Regions from separate parts of the Homo sapiens genome. Here all the other regions are linked to region 4. The links are contacts of gene promoters, found by promoter capture Hi-C in human tissues and cell types (Jung and others, 2019). All regions are on one chromosome and are shown on one strand. The core of a region is centred on a gene start or on the middle of the fragment in contact, and the rest is flanking DNA. Distances in the headings are between cores, read along the strand shown.

Region 1 (5,078 bases), core at 2,524-5,023, 350 kb after region 4:
GGCCGTGGACCCAATCCTGGGGCTTGGGAATCTGCTCTTCATTGATGCTTTCACCGAAGTGGAATTCATTCCTACACTTTTTATTGATCTGAGTGAAGGGGCCAGGCTGGAGTGGCTGCTGGGCTGGAGAGGCAGGGGCTATGGCCCAGGTCCCCACCCTGCTCAGACCCTGGAGGCTGACCCTGTGCCTGTGCCTAATGGTGGCTTCTGGGCACTGGGGCCCGAGGGAAGCCTGAGGGCAGGGGGGAGGGAGGAGGGCGTGCACGTTCACCTCGGGCCCCCATGCTCAAGGCCCCTCTCACCAGTTCCAGCAGCACCTTCTCTCCTCACCCCCTGCCTGAGGAGGTGACGGCCCCCTGCTGTTGCCACGTGCTGGGGCACCTCCTCGGGTCCTGACAGCTCCAAACCACGGACTGCCTGATGGCCAGAGCCCGCTGCGAAGTGGCGATCCCGCACCCATGCGGAGGCTCCAAGACAAGATGAGAGGGCCCTGCCAGAGGAAGGGTTCCCTCTCCTCCACCCACCCCGATAGGAGTCCACCCTGGGATTCGGTGATGCCTCACCCTCTGTCTCCCAGCACCCCTGGCTGCCGGGGGGGATTGAGGGCCGGTCCCACCTTCCTCCTGTACCCAACTGGACCACAGGGCCGCCCCATGCCCCAAGGGGCCTCGGCTGGGACGCTTGCCATCTCCGTGAGCCTTTTCTCAGGAGAAGGGGGGCTGGTTCCCGTCCGGATGCCTCCCTGGCCTGCCTCTGCACCTGGCCCACCTCTGCACCTGGCCCTCCTGCCTGACTCTCGGACACTCCCCTTGGTTTGAGGGTCAGGCAGTGGCCAGACGCCCAGGGAGAGTTCTCCATCTCGAGCTGTGCTCTCTCTGCACTGCCCCCCTCGCTTCTAGCCATCAGGGGTCCCCTCTGCTCTCCGCCAGCCACCTCCTGCCTGCTTAGGGGAGAAACAAGAGGAAGGTGCCCCCGTAGGAGCCCCAAGACCACCAAAGGGACAGATCTGAGAGGCCACTCCCCAGGCCTGCTGTCCAGCTCTGGGGTGGGAGATGGCACCAGAGGAGAGGCCATCAGAGGCCCCCGAGTGGCAGGACAACGGCTGCGGGACTGCCTCTCCCAGGCTTGCCTTCCCTCGGGTGGCTCAGCAGCCCCTGAGTGATGCTCCTGCCTGGGACGCTTGACCTGCACTGAGCACAGGGGAGTCGGATCCGGAGGCATTCTCGGAATCACCTCTCCGGATGCTCAGAAAAGGGCAATGTTTTTAAAAAGGCAAAAGGGTGCGGTGCGTGTTATAGATGAGAGGAGGCTAACGGGAGACCCTGGATAGGATCCTGAACGAGGCTTGGGGTGGGACTGCTCTGGCGGGCCGTGGAGCTGACTGGGAAGTTTACACACAGCAGGCGGGGCCACGGGGCCGTGCATCGTTCTGTGTGGCACTGCGTTTCCCCAGGCGTGCTGCTGGAGGCAGGCAGGTGTTCTTAGACATTTGATGCTACAGTATTTAGGGTGAAGTGTCAAGGTGTCTGCAACTGACACTCAAAAGATTCAGCAGTTTTACATAAAGGGGGAGCAAGAAGTAAGAGAGGAAGCCAAGGTGACACAATATTTTTTAAAAGGGCTTCTGGGTACAAATCAGTGTACGTACAGAAATACATTTTATTTGTGCAGATGTGCAGAGACACTTTCGGCTGGCATGGTGGTTCATGCCTGTAATTCTAGCACTTTGGGAAGCCAGGGCAGGAGGATTGCTTGAGCCCAGGCTGGACAACATAGTGAGACCCCATCTCTGCAAAAAACACAAAAATTAGCCAGGCGTGGTGGTGTGTGCCTGTAGACCCAGCTACTTGGGAAGCCGAGGATCGCTTGAGTCCAGGAGGTCGAAGCTGCAGTGAGCCTTATTCTCACCACTGCCCTGCAGCCTGGGCAACAGAGCAAGACTCTCTCAAATCAATCAATCAATAAATTTGACTGCAGGTGCCAGAAGTGGACTCTGACTAACTGAAGCCGGGAGCAGGTATTTGGTTGGAGCTTGCAGCAGGGAGGGCAGGGGGAAGGCGCTGTTCAGGCCCCAACAGCAGCGGCTCGGGAGTGGCCCCAGCACAAGCCCAGTGTCCCTCGGCTCAGCATTCAAATTCCAGGAAAAGAGTCCCGATGGTCCGGCTTGGTCTAGGGCTGTGGCCCGTGGCAGGTCCCCAAAACCACACCTGCCGCTCCAGTGCCCCCCAAGGCTGCATGACCTTCGTGTGGACAGGATCATGGAACACATGACCTCACCCAAGCCTCCCAACCATGCCGTGATCCAGCACTGTTAGAATCATCCCCGTTTCACAGAGCAGAGTTGAAGTGTTGGGTGTTTAAACGCTGTGCCCAGGGCTGTCCAGCCAGGGAGTGGAATCTGGTCCTGGCCCAGAAGGCAGCAGCCCCACCCAGGCCACCTGCTCCAGGTCCCCGGGCTCCACAGACTTTCACATCTACTGCAGAGGCGCAAGGACGTTCCCCAGCATCAAAGCCCTCAGACCCTGGTGCCAGCCACGTCGTCACAGAACTTGTAGACCAGAGGATGCCCTGCGGATAGAGGGCCTGCCCTGGGCCTGCGCCAGGCTGGGCATATTGCTGAGGTCCCTGCTCTGTGCTGGCAAAATCCAGACCTCAGGAGAGGGGCAGGCAGGCTCTGAGAGGTTGCGGCTGCCCAGGGCCTGCAGCTGGGAGGAGCGGAGACAGACCCCCCCTCCCCTGGGACACAGTTGCTCTGCACCACACAGCTCCGCTCCTGGCGTCCCCTGGCTTTGCCGGGGGCGGCCGACCCAGCTGGCCAGGCCCCCTCCCCCTGCCCCACAGGTGGCCCTGAGCTGCTGAGGATAAGGCATGCTGGGCGATCTCTGCTGATTAGAGTCGCCCTCCGCTGTGGGCTAGGGGCCCCTATTTTGCTCCTGAGATCCCAGTCGGCCCATAGAAGCCCTCACAGGCTCTCCCGGGGGTCCAAGGAGTCCCAGGAGGCCCCCGTTCACCCCGGGTTTGCCTTCTCCCTCCTGTAATTTGCTTTTCATATGCGTGAAGGGGAACTCAGCAGGAGCAGAAGATGATGTGGCCTCGTGGGAGCGTGGGAGAGCTGGGACGGGGTGGTGGGGAGGAGCGGGGACCCAGGGACAGGGGCTCTGGGTCCAACCACCAGGCCTTTTGCACTTCGTGCTCTCTGTAGCCTCAGCTTCCCCCGAGGGTCAGGAACTCCAGGCAGGGGCATGGGGCAGCTCAGAAACCTTCCTGAGCCCCTTCCCCTGGCAAGAGGCAAACCAAGCAGGTGAGGGCTGGGCCCTGTTCTCAGAGCTGGCATCCCAGCCCTGGCCAGATCCAGGCTGAGGGCGGCCCAGCCCCCTGTTCTGCCTGGTGCAGAGGACACGGCTTCCCTGGCCGGAGCCCCCGCCCCCTCCTCTCCTTTCTTGGCGTCTGCCCCTGGGCGTGCCCTACCATTAAGCCCTTGTTGGTTCCACAAGCTGGGGGCACCCCTTCCTCCCTTCCTCCGGGCAGCCATTGGCAATGGCTGGCGGCTCGGGACAGGGCCCGTATTCTCTGAAAATGATGGCTGGGCTGGAACCCGGGATCGATTCTCAGACCTGCGTCATGTGGAGTCCCGGATGCTTGTTACGAATTCGGACCCTGGCCTGTGCCTGCTCCCTGGTACCTCTGAACAGGGCTTTCTGCCCTGGGGGTGTGAAGAGGGCCAAGTCCACTCCCCGACTGGGGTCACGCCTGCCTCCTGTCAGGACTGTGAACACTGCGTCCCCATCAGCTCAAAGAATACGCATGGGGACAAGCCTGGGGGGCCGTCTGAGAGTCCCCCAACCCTGGATCCCCACGGCAGCCCCCACTGTTGGGTTTTTCAGTGGCTGGTGTGCCCTGGGCTGGTCACCTCTGCATTTTGCTCTGCTGGGAGTTTGCTCCTGGCCCTCCAACAGCGCCTCCTCTGTGAGGAGGAACTCCTGTTCCCGTGGCTCTGCTGGCTCTGGAGGCTGGAGTTCCCGTGCTGGGCCCTCCTGGGCGGGTTCTCTCTTGCTGCCGCCAGTACCCTGCCCCTCTCGTCCTCCTGGGTAGCCTGGGAGGAATGGCAGAAGAAAGCAGTGAAGCCAGGTAGCAGTAGCCCGGCCACCCCACCAGGCTCTGCTGTAGGCTGGGCTCTCAAGGCAGCTGCTCCAGGAGGGGCCCCCTAGGAAGGGACTGCCACACTCCTGGGAGCGTTCCTGGCCCCCTCCAGTGCAAATGACCCTGGGCCCCAAGGCTCCGAACACCCGCCCCTCTGCTCCAGGTAAGAGGGAGATGTGGGTGGTGCCTGGACTGTTGTGTGCTTAGGTGGGGGAGTGGAGCCTTCAGGTCTCAGGAACCCACAAATGCTTGTTGAGCTGATGAACCCTGCAGAGATGAGAAGCTTAGGCCCAGAGAGCTGATGCCACCTGCCTGGGGCCACAAAGTCCACTGGGCAGAGGAGGGTGGGAACCCCAGTCCTTGGCCCCACTGTCAAAGCGGGTGCTTCCCAGGGAGAGCAGAGCCTGGGGTCAGTGCGGAGGACACTGGATCCCCAGTTCCGGGCTGGGGAGAGGCAGCTGGTGTTTCAGTGCTGCAGAGAGGGCCAGGCCGGCCTCAGACACCCTCCCCGAGGCCTGTGTGGGGGTGGAGGGCGGCCACACCTGTCCCACTGCAGGCCCTGGGGTGGGGTTTCCTGTCTGTGCTGGAGCCCGGTCAGGTTTCTCACTTCGCCCGGGGCAGGGGTGCAGGGCAGATGGCCCAGCCAGTCATGAGTCACCAGCCCAGCCTGCCGGCCTGCCTGACAAACGGGAAAGACCCGGCGGGTAGGAGCTGGGCTGGGAGCATCCTAGCTGGGCCTGGGCCAGCCCCTTCCTGGGAGAGGAGGGAAGCTGCCTCAGGCCTCCGGGGAGAAGCTCCCACCTGGCCCGGACCCTCCTCCCTCCTCCCTCCTCTGGCGGGGTGAGTGGGCTGAGGGCCTGCTGGGCCCCTGCATGGTGGGAAAGTTTGGGGAGGGGAGGGGTTTCCAAGCCTCAGCCGTCCAGGCCTACGCATCCCAG
Region 2 (4,458 bases), core at 1-2,500, 290 kb before region 4:
CCCTGTAGTTCTGCAACCTGCCTTAAACTTGCCTAGCACAAGCTACCCCCTGGCTCTGGCACGGTTCTGTGCACCTGCTGCCACTGCCTGCACCGCCTCCGCCCCTCTTCTCCATAAAAAGCCAAAGCCGTGGCCTTGCACCAAGGGGTCCCGCGCAGCCTCTGCGGGAGCGCCCCACTTCCGCACTCTGCACGCCTGGCACCAACAGCCTCCTGGCTGCGCCCTCCACCTGCCCAGGCCTGGGGACCCCACGCCGTGGGCTGCTCCCGCAAACTCCGAGTCGTGTGCACCTTCGGATCCTCACGGTCCCCCACGCAGCAGAGGCTCAATAAATACTTTTTTTTTTTTTTTTTGATATGGAGTCTCGCTCTGTCTCCCAGGCTGGAGTGCAGTAGCGCGATCTCGGCTCACTGCAAGCTCTGCCTCCCAGGTTCACGCCATTCTCCTGCCTCAGCCTCCCGAGTAGCTGGGACTACAGGCGCCCGCCACCACGCCCGGCTAAATTTTTTTGTATTTTTTTAGTACAGACGGGGTTTCACCGTTTTAGCCAGGATGGTCTTGATCTCTTGACCTCGTGATCCACCCGCCTCGGCATCCCACAGTGCTGGGATTTACAGGCGTGAGCCACCGCGCCCAGCCAATACTTTTACATTTAATTGATTCGCGGTCACAAGGTGCCCAAGTAAAAGTGCAGTGAGTGACTCGGCAAAAATCGCTTCCAGGCCCCACGGCCGGGACATCTGCCACCGCGCAACCCGGGCTCCCGCTCCGGGGGACGCCCCGGAATGGGAACGCGGGTCTAGGGCTCCACTCCTCCCTCTTCCCGGCGCCCTCGCGAGCTGGGCTCGGCCGGGCGCCGAGTACTCGATGCGGGTGACACGCGGCGCCGTTCTACCTCACCCCTGGGAAGGCTCGCCACCGCCCCGCCCCCACTCGGGACCCCCGGGACCCCCGGGACCCCAGCGGAAGCGCAGGTGACGGCGAGCAGGGGGCGGGGCCGCCGCTCAGGAGGCCGCTCATTGGCCGCCGAGGCCCCGCCCCCGAACACCGGGACGCCGACCGCAATGGGCGGGGCCTCGGCGCAGCGCCCCCCGCCCGCCTACCCGTCCGCCCCGGGCGGGCGGCCGCACCTGAAGCAGCACGGTGCTCGGCGTCACCTTCACCGTGTGGCGCCGGCCGTTCGGGGCCAGCACCGACACCGCGGAGCCTCCGCCGCCTGCCGGGGCCGCCATTTTCCGCTCACGTGACCCGCCGCCGGGCCGGCGTCAAACAACTTTATCGGCAACAGCCAGGACGCGCAGCCACGCGGCCAGGGGGCGGGGCCGCAGCGCACTTCCGGGTCCTGCCAGGCCCCGCCCTTTCCCCACCCACGGCGCCCCGGCCCCGCCCTTGGGCCGCCAAAGCCCGCGCCAGACCCGGAAAGCGCGGTCGTCCTCTGCCTCCGGGAAGCGCGGCTTGGATGGGCTCGCCGGGGCCAGGCTGGGCCGGGGCTGGGCGCGCGGTCACCCCCGGTGAGCGGCACTGAGCCCCGGGGTCCCAGCGGTCCGCGCTCGCCCACCCTCGCTTCGTCCCTGACACGTCCCCAGCTCGGTGCCCTGCTCTCCCCCGACCCTCCCGGCTTCCTCCACTCCAGCAGCTGAGCCTCTTCCCTGCCCACCTGTCCCTGTGGTCAGCGTCCACCTCCTGACCTTATGGTTTGGGGCAGTCCCCCCGCCCCTGTACGGATCCTCCCTGGGTGTTGGGACTCGTGGCCCTCAGTCTAGACCTGATTTCTTTCATCCTAAAATGGGAGTGCAGAATCTGGCAGCCCTAGGGCTGCCGCGACGGTCCCTAAACCTGAGGGTAGGAAAGGCGGGAGACCGGTTTCAGAACCGTGGGGTGAGCGAACTTGAGTCTCACCGGAGCTCCTGCCGACCCACAGGCACTCAAGGACTTCCCGCACCAACCCATGCTGAGGAGGGGCTTGGTGGCAGCCTCAGGAAACACTCCCATCGCCAGCCACCGCAGCAGGGAAAGCACCTGGCCTCACCAGCTCCAGGCTTCCAGAAGGAGCTGCCCTCCTGACTCGCAGCCGTCGAATGTGCTTAGCTCCCAGCACCTGGGCCACTCATGGACAGCACTCGCACGTGTTCCGCCCCGCCCCCCACCTCCATGGCTCAGCCGGGCCTTGGCACTCCTCTCTCCATGTGCCTGCCTGTCTCTGCGGACTCCTGGCTAGGGCTCAGCTGCCCAGTAGCCTGTGGAAGGGGGAACTGGTGCAGTTATCAGTCAATCCTCCCACAGGGCTGGGATTACACACGTGAGCCACCGCACCCGGCAGTCATTGCTGAGTCTAAGGACATCTCTGCATGGGTGCTGTTGTGCCTTCCTGTCGATGACATATCCATGTCACCCACACACACCTGTATGCTGACAAACACGGACATCTATGTACATTGGAGAAACCTGGGGAAAGCCCCAGGCTAGCCATAGCCCTCCCATCCAGCCAGCCAGTCCCATGCTCTGTGCAACCTCAGAACCTTACTGAGCCACACATCACCTGGTGGGTTTTAATTCTTTAGTGGCGTTTTTGAAGAGTCTGTTCCTATTTTCCTTAGACTGTCCCACAGTCTGGATCCTTGGTTAAACGTTTGGGGCAATGATGAAGGGAGGTGACAAGTCAGCAGGAGGTGCAGGACATCAGCGTGGCCATGAGTGAGGACGTGAAGTTGAACCACTTGGTCAGCTTTGGGTCTGCTGAATTCCTCCATGGTCAAGGTCCGTGGCTCCTTGTGGAGTAATTAAGGCATGCGTGAGGTCATTCTCTGAGACCACAAGCATCAAGTTTTCCCAATAACCATTTGCCCAACAGTTTTAGCATCAGTTAATGAGTAGATTCAGTGTTAAACCGTAAAGCTGCAAAATCATGGCTTCCCAAGTTTATTGTTTCTTCTACATTTATAGTCACTTTCGGTCAAGCTTCCCCTTCTTTAAAAAGTTATTAAATATTTGGGAGGCTGAGGCAGGAGAATGGCGTGAATCCGGGAGGCAGAGCTCGCAGTGAGCTGAGATCACGCCACTGTACTCCAGCCTGGGAGACGGAGCAAGACTCTGTCTCAAAAAAAAAAAAAAAAAAAAAATTAAATATGGCCAGGCGCGGTGGCTCACGCCTGTAATCCCAGCACTTTGGGAGGCTGAGTTGGGCAGATCACAAGGTCAAGAGATTGAGACCATCTTGGCCAACATGGTGAAATCCTGTCTCTACTTAAAAAAAAAGTACAAAAATTAGCCGGGCATGGCGGTGCGTGCCTGTAATCCCAGCTATTCGGGACACTGAGGTAGGAGAATCACTTGAACCTGGGAGATGGAGGTTGCAACGAGCCAAGATCGCACCATTGCACTCCAGCCTGGGCGACAAGAGTGAAACCCCATCTTGAAATATATATATTTATTAATATGAATTCATGTATTTTTTTCATTCAGTCAGCATTCTTTTTGATGCTCAAATTGGTCCGAATTTGGCCAGTGAGACCTCCTTTAAGCTGGCTCCTATGCTTTTTTTGATAGGAGGGATGATCTTTTATCCTGATATTATTTCAAACTTAGCCGAGCAAGGTGGCTCACACCTGTAGTCTTAGCTACTCCGGTGGCCGAGGCAGGAGAATTACTTAAGTTCCAGCCTTAGTGAACCACTATTCATGCCTATGAATAACTACTGCACCCCAGCCCGAGCAACGTAGTACGATACCGTCTCAAAAAAGGAGAAGGAGAAGAAAGAAGAAGAGGGAGGAGGAAGGAAGAAAGAGAAGAAAAGTTTGCAAAAGCAAGAATTCCTGCTGTATATCTTTTTTTTTTTTTTTTTTTTTTGGAGATGGAGTCTCCCTCTGTCGCCAGGCTGGAGTGCAGTGGCGAAATCTCAGCTCACTGCAACCTCTGCCTCCCGGGTTCAAGCGATTCTTCTGCCTCAGCCTCCCGAGTAGCTGGGACTACAGGTGTGCAGCACCACACCCAGCTAGTTGTTGTTTTGTTTTGTTTTGTTTTTTGAGACGGAGTCTCGCTCTGTTGCCCAGGCTGGAGTGCAGTGGTGCAATCTCGGCTCACTGCAAGCTCCGCCTCCCGGGTTCACATCATTCTCCTGCCTCAGCCTCCCGAGTAGCTGGGACTACAGGCACCTGCCACCATGCCCGGCTAATTTTTTGTATTTTTAGTAGACATGGGGTTTCACCATGTTAGCCAGGATGGTCTCAATCTCCTGACCTCGTGATCCACCCGCCTCAGCCTCCCAAAGTGCTGGGATTACAGGTGTGAGCCACCACGCCCAGCCTCCTGTATATCTTTTAGCCAGATAAATCAGTGTTTACATGTCACCCCATTTGTTTTATCATATTCTCTTTCTCTCTCTCCATATACATGTAAAAACTTTTTCTGGCCAGGCACAGTGGCTTACACCTATAATCCCAGCACTTTGGGAGGCCAAAG
Region 3 (5,108 bases), core at 1,737-4,236, 410 kb after region 4:
CTTCCTGGACTTTGAAATTGCTCACTGCTTGTTGCACATCTGCTGGAGATAACACGGCCATGTGTGCGTGTGTTTGGGGGGGTTCTGCCTGCACCCTGAAACCTGTGGGCCAGGAGAGTCCTGGGGCATTTGTCAGGAGCGGCGCTGTGCAGCCTGTGTTTTGCTCTCCATACTTCCTGGCACTTAAAAAACTCTCGTGGTATTGCTCTAAAAGCAAAAAGGAAAACGGAAGGACTCGATACTCACATTTCAAAAGGAAGTTGTAAAATGTACGGTCTGTGCCTGGGGTGAGAAGCCCTCGTGCCTTCCTGGCATGCTGCAGGTTCCCGTTTAAGTTGCTCAGCCAGATCTGATTGTGCTGGTCAGGCTCACCTGCCAGGTGAGTGCGCGGCCGGCCTCACGTGGAGATGTGCCTGGTGTGCCTGGCAGAGCCCTTTCAGGCTTTGCTTTCTAGGAGAGTGGTGGAGGAAATCAGTCATTTCAAAACCTTTTGTTTTTCTTTTGTACAGCAAAAAGATGGCACCTTTGCAGCAGGGGGCTACATGCCCCCTCTCCGGTTTAAAGCACTTACCCTCTCTGTGGTGTTTGGAACCATGGTTGGTGGCATCCTTATCCCCAACGGTAAGGCGGGAGGGCTGCCCTGTTGCCGGGGAGTGGGACCCGGGGCTTCGGCATCAACCAAGACCTGCACAGTTACGAGACCTGCACAGAGACCATCTTCTCTGGTCTCTTAAAAAAGTCTAGAGACTTTGTCAGTTTTTCTCTGGCCCACAGAGAAAGGCAGGGGATAAAATCTGGCAACTTGAGCCAGGTGCGGTGGCTCACACCTGTAATCCCAGCACTTTGGGAGGTTGAGGTGGGTGGATCACCTGAGGTTGGGAGTTCAAGACCAGCCTGACCAATGTGGAGAAACCCCGTCTCTACTAAAAATACAAAATTAGCAGGGCGTCATGGTGCATGCCTGTAATCCTAGCTACTTGGGAGGCTGAGGCAAAAGAATCACTTGAACCCGGGAGGAGGAGTTTGCAGTGAGCCAAGATTGCGCCATTGCACTCCAGGCTGGGCAACAAGAGAGAAACTTCGTCTCAAAAAAAAAAAAATCTGGCAGCTTGCTGGGCGCAGTGGCTCACGCCTGTAATCCCCGCAGTTTGGGAGGCCGAGGCGGGCGGATCACGAGGTCAGGAGATCGAAACCATCCTGGCTAACACGGTGAAACCCCGTCTCTACTAAAAATACAAAAAAATTAGCCGGGCGTGGTGGCGGGTGCCTGTAGTCCCAGCTACTTGGGAGGCTGAGGCAGGAGAATGGCGTGAACCTGGGAGGCGAAGCTTGCAGTGAGCTGAGATCGCTCCACTACACTCCAGCCAAAAAAAAAAAAAAAAAAAAAATCTGTCAGCTTGATGGAACAGCAGGCACCCATTGACACCTGGGCAGAGAGAGACTGCAGTGCCGGGACACAGGCTCAATTTGTAGAACCAACTATTCTAGAACAGCGCATGCTGTCCTGTTGATTCTTTTGACTTCTGATTTTGGTGATGCATTACCAAGGGAAGCGTTGAAGGCTCTGAACATATTTATGTTACCCAAATGCACCCACTCCCTAGCAGACAAGACAGAGCTCGTTGTCATCAGAGGATGACATCACAGGGGAACTCGCACGCACTCTCCCCAGGGAACAGCCCTAGAGGCGATCTGTCTGGGCTCCTGGCAGGGGCTGCAGCCTGGCAGCACCCGCCAGGCCCTGGCCTCTACACCTGCCCTAGGATAGGTCCTGCCTTCCTAGGGCCACTCATGGAGCAGCAGGCAGGAGAGGCGGCGCAGGAGCCGTGCCGTGCGCAGCCAGCATCTGGTTTCGGCAGGAGGTCCCTAGTGTCTGACTCTTTAAAGATGAACCATCAGAGAATTCACCCCGGGGCCTAAATGCACTGTTGGAGGAATCAGCCGCGGTTGTCAGGCTTTCTGGGCACAGAGGGCGTCTCTGCTCCCGGCTCACGCCTAGACGGCATTTCCTTCAATGCTGGCTTGCTCACCCGTGTGCAGGGCAAAAGCTCAGGTCCCCTCCTTCCCAGAGCCCTTCCCCACTCATCCCTTCCTGTCACTTCTCCATCCTAGTGGAGACCATCCTGGGCCTCACAGGAGCGACCATGGGAAGCCTCATCTGCTTCATCTGCCCGGCGCTGATCTACAAGAAAATCCACAAGAACGCACTTTCCTCCCAGGTGCGTGCTGCTCGTGGGGTGGCCTGGACGAGGGCTGATGGGTCTGGGCTGGGGAGAGGTGGAGGCGGGAGGAAGCCCCTGGTTCAGCGTTTTCAGATGGGTTCTATCAAGAAACTTAAAACCCACAAAAGGGACTTGGTCCAGTCAGCCTGGGGAACCCTGGGTTCACCAGGACGCACGGTCTTTGCCCAGCAGGGCCACACTAAGCTGCTCAAGCTGTGCATCGGGTTTTCCTGAGAGCCGACTTAGCTGAGTCGTAAGCGCTTTCCCCATGGTGTTTCTGCGATGCCTGATTGCCCATGGACCTGCTGCCACCTCTGAGTCCCCTCCCCAGCCGCCCACCCCTGAGGCCACCACCCACCGTTGTTCCTGGTGCGACCCTCCCACGGAGATGTGCGTGCTTGTGGGTTTTTCTTTAACTGTAACACAGCTTCCTGCTGCTTTTGCTCAAAACCCTGTGCAGGTCAGGTTGCTCCACAGCCGTGGGCACAGAGCTGCCTCGCTATTTTTAGCCGTTTCATGGGTTCCGTGGTAGGAAGATTCCATAATCCCAGTCTCCGAAGGACTCACCTCTCCAGTCTTGCTATTGCAGACAGAATCGCGATGAATATCTGTGTTCATGAGCATGTCGACGTATTTGAGCACGCGTCTGTAGGAAGCCTTCTAGAAATGGAATCCTGTGTCAGGGGTGTGAGCATCTGTAAATGTGGTGGCTCTACCCAAAGTGCCTGCAGCGTCACTCCCAGCCAGGCTCAAGGCCTCTGTCCCTGCACCCAGGACCTTCCAGGCTTCATCATTCTTGGCCTCTCTGGCGGGAACTTGAGTGTCTTTTCATGGGTTTAGAAGCCACTTGCGTTTCTTTTTCTGTGAACTGCTTGTGTTCTTTGCTCACTTTTTATGGAGTTGTTGAGCTTTTTCTTACTGGAATATATTGATAATTTTTTTTTTCTTTTGAGACAGAGTTTCACTCTTGTTGCCCAAGCTGGGGTGCAGTGGCGCAGTCTCGGCTTACTGCAACCTCCGCCTCCCAGGTTCAAGTGATTCTCCTGCCTCAGCCTCCTGAGTAGCCACCACGCCGGGCTAATTTTGTATTTTTAGTGAGACGGGGTTTCTCCGTGTTGGTCACGCTGGTCTTGAACTCTTGACCTCAGGTGATCCACCCGCCTCCACCTCCCAAAGTGCTGTGATTACAGGTGTGAGCCAATGCGCCCGGCCTCAACCTGATAAGTTTTTACAAAGTGAACCACGTGGAACCACCATCCAGAGCAGACATAGGACATCCCGGCACCCCAGAGCTCCCTATGGATGCCTCACTGACATCCACCCCCACCCCAAAGGTCCTCCGGCATTCTGGAATGATCTTGCCTTGTCTTCAAGTTGCGGTAAATAGATTCTTACAGTGTACATTAGAATACACGTCCACGTGTGTCAGCCACTTCTTCAGCATCTTGGCTCAGGTCCACTGCAACTTCTGCCTCCTGGGTTCAAGCAATTCTCCTGCCTCAGCCTCCTGAGTAGCTGGGATTCCAGGTGTGTGCCACCACACCCAGCTAATTTTTGTACTTTTAGTAGAGACAGGGTTTTACCATGTTGGTCAGGCTGGTCTCAAATCCTGACCTCAAATAATCCACCCGCCTCAGCCTCCCAAAGTGCTGGGATTATAGACGTGAGCCACTACACCCAGCCCCTTATGGATTTTTTAATCATCTTGTTTATGAGTTGTGAGAAAGGTATGATAATTCCTACTGTAACTGCAGATTTGTTTATTTTTCCTTTTAGTTCCATCACTTTTTGCTTTTTAGTTTGAAGCCATGTTATTAGGAGCAGACAGATTGAAGTTGGTTATATCTCCTTGTTGAATTGTCTTTTATCGTGTTAAATACTCCTTTTTATCATTGGAAATACTTTTCTCCTTAAAGTTGGCTTTGTAGCTAACTTAGTTCTGCTTTGGGTTTGTATTTGCACAGGATAGCTTGTTTCATCCCTTTTCTTTTGATTTCTCTAGTCCATTATATTCATGGTATGTCTCTTATAACAGCATGCAGTTGACTTTTGTCTTGTTCTTATTCAGTCTGTGAATGGGAGTATTTAAGACTATTTACAGTTAATATAATAACTGATTTTTGAGGGAAAACTTTCAACTTATGTCCTATTATTTGTCTCATATGTCCTTTTTCTGTTTTTGCTTTTACTTTCTTTGGATCAATCAAACATTTTAAATATTTACTCTTTTTTTGGCTTGTTGGTACATTTCTATTCTTCTAATGATTATACTAGGCAGTTGATATCAACCCTTATTTAAAACTCCACAAGACATTGTTATTGTTGTTTCAAATAGTAATTATTGAGCCAGGCATGGTGGCTCACTCCTGTAATCCCAGCACTTTGGGAGGCTGAGGCAGGAGAATCACTTGAACCCGGGAGGTGGAGGTTGCAGTGAGCCGAGATAGCACCACTGCACTCCAGCCTGGGCAACAGAGCAAAAGACTCCGTCTCAAAAAAAAAAGAAAAAAAAGAAGAAGAAAAAGAAAAAAGTATTGATATTGATTCTTTGTGGCTTCTTGTTTTTTTGTCCTGGGGTCTTGTTTTCTAGTGTGCCTGGTATTTTGCAGATGTTGTGTTTGAGAAATCGTAGAAGTTCTGGGTGACATTGTCATTCATCCATCATACAGGGGATAGGCAGAAGGCCTGTGTCCCATTGAGGCAAATGTGTTTTCAGTTGGCCTTGTTCCTAGGGTACAGCCCTTCTGGGGTCTCAGCTGGGCAGTGACACCCTCAAATGGTGAATCTTCTGCTTGGCGTTCATCTTCTGCTTGGCGTTCATCATCTTGCTGGCTCCTCTCTGCATAGCTGATAGCTGGCAAGTGCTTTGGGGGAGATTTTTGCACA
Region 4 (4,495 bases), core at 1,996-4,495:
AACTGTCTGGCCACAGTTCTTTACCACAGATTCCATGACCTGCAGATGCCCAGGAAGGGAAGGGTTGGGCCAGTGGTCAGGGCAGGGCCCCTCCTCCTCCCGGACAGACCCACCTCCCTGTGGGACAGCAGAGCCCTTCGACAGGCCCGTCAGTGGCCGGTGGGGAACCCGGTGGGACAGCAGAGCCCTTCGACAGGCCCGTCAGTGGCCGGAGGGGAACCCGGTGGGACAGCAGAGCCCTTCGACAGGCCCGTCAGTGGCCGGTGGGGAACCCGGTGGGACAGCAGCCCTTCAACAGGCCCGTCAGGCCAGTGGGGAACCCACATCTGAGACTCAGCAGCCTGCACAGCACCGCTCCGTGACGCCAAGTCTCACTGCCAAGCACAGCAATGACATCCGCCTTCTGGTGTTTACTCACGCAGGACCGGCTGAAGAAGTGGTGCCCACTCCCTCCCCTATCTCCTGTCTCTCCCTCAGCGTGACCCTCTCCTAGGTGGCACTGTTCACACAGGCACTCAAGGCTGAGTGGAAACTCTCCTGCTTGATGTATGCCCAGGGAGGTGGGCAAGGCCACAGGACAAACTCTTCTCATGCTGTCGTGACTAGTAGGGGGTAGGGACCCTGGGGGCCACTGAGGCACGGGGGTCTGCTTACCTCCAGGGCATACAAGGCGACGTGTGGGTTCTTGTCGTTGACTTTCTTCTTGATGGAATTCACAGCATATTTTGCTCTGAAAAGGAAACATTGATAAAAGCAGAGAAAAACGGGAAAAAAATAGTCTCAGCAACTAAGATGAGAAAAGCTCATCTGCTGCCAGGTGCAGTGGCTCACGCCTGTAATCCCAGTGCTTTGGGAGGCCAAGGCAGGAGGATTGCTTGAGCCCAGGAGTCTGAGACCAGCCTGTGCATTACGGCAAAAACCCATCTCTACCAAAATACAAAAAATCAGCCGGGCGTGATGGTGAATGCCTGTAGTCCCAGCTACTCAGGAGGTTGAGGTGGGACGATCGTTTGAGCTTGGGAGGCAGGGGCTGCAGTGAGCTGAGATCACGCCACTGCACTTCAGCCTGGGTGACAAAGCAAGGCCCCGTCTTAAAAAAAAAAGTCTGTCTGCCATCTTAGTCTTTGAGAACCCCGAAGCAAATACAAACATAACCAGGTATCTGCAAGCTGTACAGAGAAAACCCCTTAATCCTCCAAGATGTCAAAAAATCCTAGCATGTAGCCCATGCAGTTCTCCACATAAGAGCCTAACACGGTCAGCTACGTCGTGGAGACCCAACGGGCACCAAGCGAGCCCAGCTTAGTGCACGGCTGCTCCTCCGCATCAGGGCACAGGCCCCGCTAACTCACTGTGTGTCCCCTTGGCGGATCAGGTCGCAGATCTGCAAAATGGACTCCCAATCTGTCTCCAACAGGAGCTGGCTGGTCGCCTTGTCTGAGAGAGAAAATGCCATGAAAGGGAGGGGTTATCCTGCTGGACGCCCCGTGCAGCACCCCAGCTTGGCAGCAGCTGGGGGGGACTCTCTCCTTCCCCTTTAGACATTTGGACCAAATGAAAAAGCATGACAGAATCCTCCTGAGCGTGCTGATGGGCAGGGAAGTGCCATCCTCCCCAGGGAAGCAGCAAACAGCGTAAGAGCACACCAGGTGCTGGTCCAAGCCCTCCCACAACCCGCGAGCGAGGTAAAGACACTCAGCAGAGAGGCGAGGGCACTGCCGTGAGTCACACAGCTCACCAGAGACAGAGGCTGATTCACTCTTAAACATCAGGCTCGGCTGCTTCTCAACAAAGAACCCTATCACCCGTCCCTTGGAGTCCCCGTTCGCCCAGATGCTCCCGGTTTCAATGGGACCTTAGCTTGGGCAAGGGCTAGAGAGGCCTGCAGTGTAGACTCCAGGCCCCTTGCTCCAAGCCAAGTGCTTTGGAAATAAGGGCAGAACGGGGCTCCAAGGAGGACTCGCCAGCATACCTGTCATCATACCACATCACTGCTGTCTCCAACAACTGGCCCCTCTGGGGGGGCAGCTCCAGCTCTGCCCACATCGCCTTTCCCGGATACAGAAACGATCTAACAAGCCAAGCCACGTCCACTTTCTATACTGATTCAGTAGTTAACCTCTGGATTCATCCCTGAAGCACTGAACTACCTGTGTGGCTGAGATACTCAGTCTGCTTGCTGGTTCCCTTGGCAAGGAAGGTGTCTCACTTGAAGTCTCCTTGAAAACCCTACTTGACAAAAAGGCAAGCTTGGGCAGCCCATTCGACCACCCAAGCTCCTACCCCCAAACATTAGACGCATTTTCCACGTGCTGCTGGGCACGTGCACATCAACATTCGTTTCCCTCCCAAAACGCGTCAATTCCAGGAGGCTCAGATAGGATCAGCTTTCACCTCCAAAAACGTGAGAAAACGCCTTCCTAAACCATTAGGCACTTCCCGAAGCCAGTGTGGGAACAAAAGGTGGGTCTGGGACCCGCAGCCCCCAAGAGAGCTCGAAGGTCCCAGAGAGAACACTGCCGGCTCCACCCTTCGAGGCCCAGTGTTTTGGGTCAGAAGCCCAAGTGCGAGCCTAACATCCGACTGAGTCACCCACTTTCATGACTCAGGCCTTGTGGCCCACTCGGCCGGGTGCTCGTCGGTCAAGAGGAAATCGGCCGAATGCCCGGGCCCGCGGAGGAGCGAGGTCGCCGAGCGCCCCTGGCGCCCTGCGCGGACCCTCGCAGAGCCCCATTTGCCAACGCCCGACGGACGCCGACCCCACGGCCGCGCCGAGGGTCCAGGATCGGCGGCTCCGAACCCGGGAGGACAGCGGGCCGGGGAGAGGCGGGCAGGGCGGCCGGTCCGCGCCCCTCGGGCCCTCGGGGCCGCGCTGACTCAGCGCCGGGCGGAGGCTGCGGGCTGACCAAGGCCGAGCCGTCGGGTGGGGACGCGTTACCTAGGAGACGCTCGAAGGTGCCGCTGCCTCGCCCCATGGCGACCTCCAGCCCAAACCCGACGCCGCGGGCGCTCCCCTGCTACGAGCTGGCGCGCCCCCCGACTTCCGCTTCCGCCTTTTCCCTCCAGTGCGCGCACGCGCACGTCACCGCGCCGGCCCTAGAGCCGCGAGGAGGCGGGGTCTTCCGCTCTCCCGCTAACGCTGCGCGCTAATTGGACGCGCCCTTGGAACAATGAGCCCTAAGAACCAATGAGAAGTCCGAAGGTGAGAACTATCCAATGAGAGTGGCCGGTGGGCGGGCCTTGAGCCGCGGCGCCGAGCTACGGGTGCCGGGTGGAGCGAAGCACGGAATGTGTCTCCTGCTGGGGGCCACGGGCGTCGGGAAGACGCTGCTGGTGAAACGGCTGCAGGATATCCTTCCGCGCGGGGACGGGACCGGGGCGCGGGGGGCACCCGGAGTGGGGCGGGGACTCACCCTTTAGCTGCTCGGGTCCTTGACCGCTTCGCACAGGTGAGCTCCCGGGATGGGAAAGGCGACCTGGGGGAGCCGCCCCCGACACGGCCCACGGTAGGTGTCCGCCCCCGCGGGTGGAGTTGCGGGGGGTCAGTTCTGCGCTTGGCGAAGAGCTCCGGGCTCCTCTAAGTGCACGCCGAGGCGCAGCGGGTCAGGTCGTGACTTAAGGCCAGCCTTCGGGAGCGGGGGACGGCCCGAGCTGAGGATAATTGGCGCGGGATGAGGGGGCCTGCCGCCCTCCACGGGCACTTCCTCTCCCCTCGCAACGGCTTCCTGTGGCTGGTCGCCCCCACAGCGAGTCCAGCTACTGATGGGCGTCGGTCCCTGCTCGCCGTTCCTGCGTTAGGGAGAATGGGTCTGCGGGGTTCAGGCCACCGTGTAAGGTGTGGGCACGGTGCTCTTCAGGAGTTCACAACGGGACAGCGGTTGTATTGTTCTTTTTGCATCGTGGTTTTTCCTATAGGTGGGCACCAATCTTACTGACATCGTGGCACAGAGAAAGATCACCATCCGGGAGCTTGGGGGGTGCATGGGCCCCATCTGGTCCAGTTACTATGGAAACTGCCGTTCTCTCCTGGTGGGTTGTAATCCTATATGGGCTTCCTTTAGGGAAGTGTGTCTACATTTCTGTGACGTCCAGTCCCCAACCTTGCTGTGTGTAGAAAGGGGTTTGGGTTATTTAGTGACTATACTACTCATGGAAATAGGTCTTAGCTAGTGTTGCTTCCTGCTGGGCACCCTGTCTGGTTTCTGGTGCTTGCGCTCCCAGGCCCCCGGTAGGAGCTCACAGAGGGCTTGCTGAGGGCAGGGCTGCTGCTCCGCAGAGAACAGACTTGGCCCTCTGTGTCACTCCCCGGTACGTCTGTGTTTATGTTGGACTTATACGTACCTCTGGTTGGTCTCATCTTGATAAGGCCTGTGCCGCGGATACCAGTATGGAGAACTGATGGCCACATGAGGACAGAGACGAGTGACACCAGGTCGTCTTCATAAAACTCGATTCCCTCTGCTTCTGCTTGTTCCCAAAGCTTTGTTTAAAGCTA

The links. Contacts are between HindIII fragments. The study calls those that stand out against the background at their distance.
Region 1: a contact is called between the fragment with the promoter of TMEM105 here and the fragment with the promoter of ARL16 in region 4, in 1 of the 25 tissues and cell types used here (aorta).
Region 2: the fragment with the promoter of ASPSCR1 here is called in contact with the fragment with the promoter of ARL16 in region 4 in 1 of the 25 tissues and cell types used here (dorsolateral prefrontal cortex).
Region 3: a contact is called between a fragment that was not itself captured here and the fragment with the promoter of ARL16 in region 4, in 1 of the 25 tissues and cell types used here (dorsolateral prefrontal cortex).

Annotation. Positions count from the first base shown.
Region 1 is chr17:81,329,369-81,334,446 of GRCh38, reverse strand. It overlaps TMEM105 (TMEM105 long non-coding RNA), which reads left to right and starts at 3,773. Exons shown (of 3, transcript NR_165247.1): 1 at 3,773-4,303. RefSeq lists enhancers at 2,006-2,576, 2,577-3,147, 4,291-4,860, 4,861-5,078. The HindIII fragment of the contact is 14,660 bases long and covers 1-5,078 here.
Region 2 is chr17:81,974,421-81,978,878 of GRCh38, reverse strand. ASPSCR1 (ASPSCR1 tether for SLC2A4, UBX domain containing) reads right to left here and starts at 1,250. Exons shown (of 16, transcript NM_024083.4): 1 at 1,131-1,250. The coding sequence starts at 1,232. LOC105371939 (a long non-coding RNA gene) reads left to right here and starts at 1,394. Exons shown (of 2, transcript XR_933953.4): 1 at 1,394-1,511; 2 at 1,922-2,911. It overlaps LOC124904087 (a long non-coding RNA gene), which reads right to left. Exons shown (of 2, transcript XR_007065951.1): 2 at 2,544-2,768. RefSeq lists a silencer at 755-1,614 and enhancers at 1,093-1,864, 1,865-2,638. The HindIII fragment of the contact is 10,548 bases long and covers 1-4,458 here.
Region 3 is chr17:81,268,029-81,273,136 of GRCh38, reverse strand. It overlaps SLC38A10 (solute carrier family 38 member 10), which reads left to right. Exons shown (of 16, transcript NM_001037984.3): 9 at 510-621; 10 at 2,113-2,219. Among named protein-coding and RNA genes, the nearest start is that of SLC38A10, 25 kb to the left of the region's middle. The HindIII fragment of the contact is 5,517 bases long and covers 228-5,108 here.
Region 4 is chr17:81,682,547-81,687,041 of GRCh38, reverse strand. It overlaps ARL16 (ARF like GTPase 16), which reads left to right and starts at 3,245. Exons shown (of 5, transcript NM_001040025.3): 1 at 3,245-3,349; 2 at 3,448-3,506; 3 at 3,916-4,029. The coding sequence starts at 3,289. HGS (hepatocyte growth factor-regulated tyrosine kinase substrate) reads right to left here and starts at 3,031. Exons shown (of 22, transcript NM_004712.5): 1 at 2,939-3,031; 2 at 1,353-1,437; 3 at 655-730; 4 at 1-39. The coding sequence starts at 2,975. RefSeq lists silencers at 2,801-2,900, 3,111-3,170, 3,381-3,460 and enhancers at 3,049-3,343, 3,561-3,780. The HindIII fragment of the contact is 7,981 bases long and covers 963-4,495 here.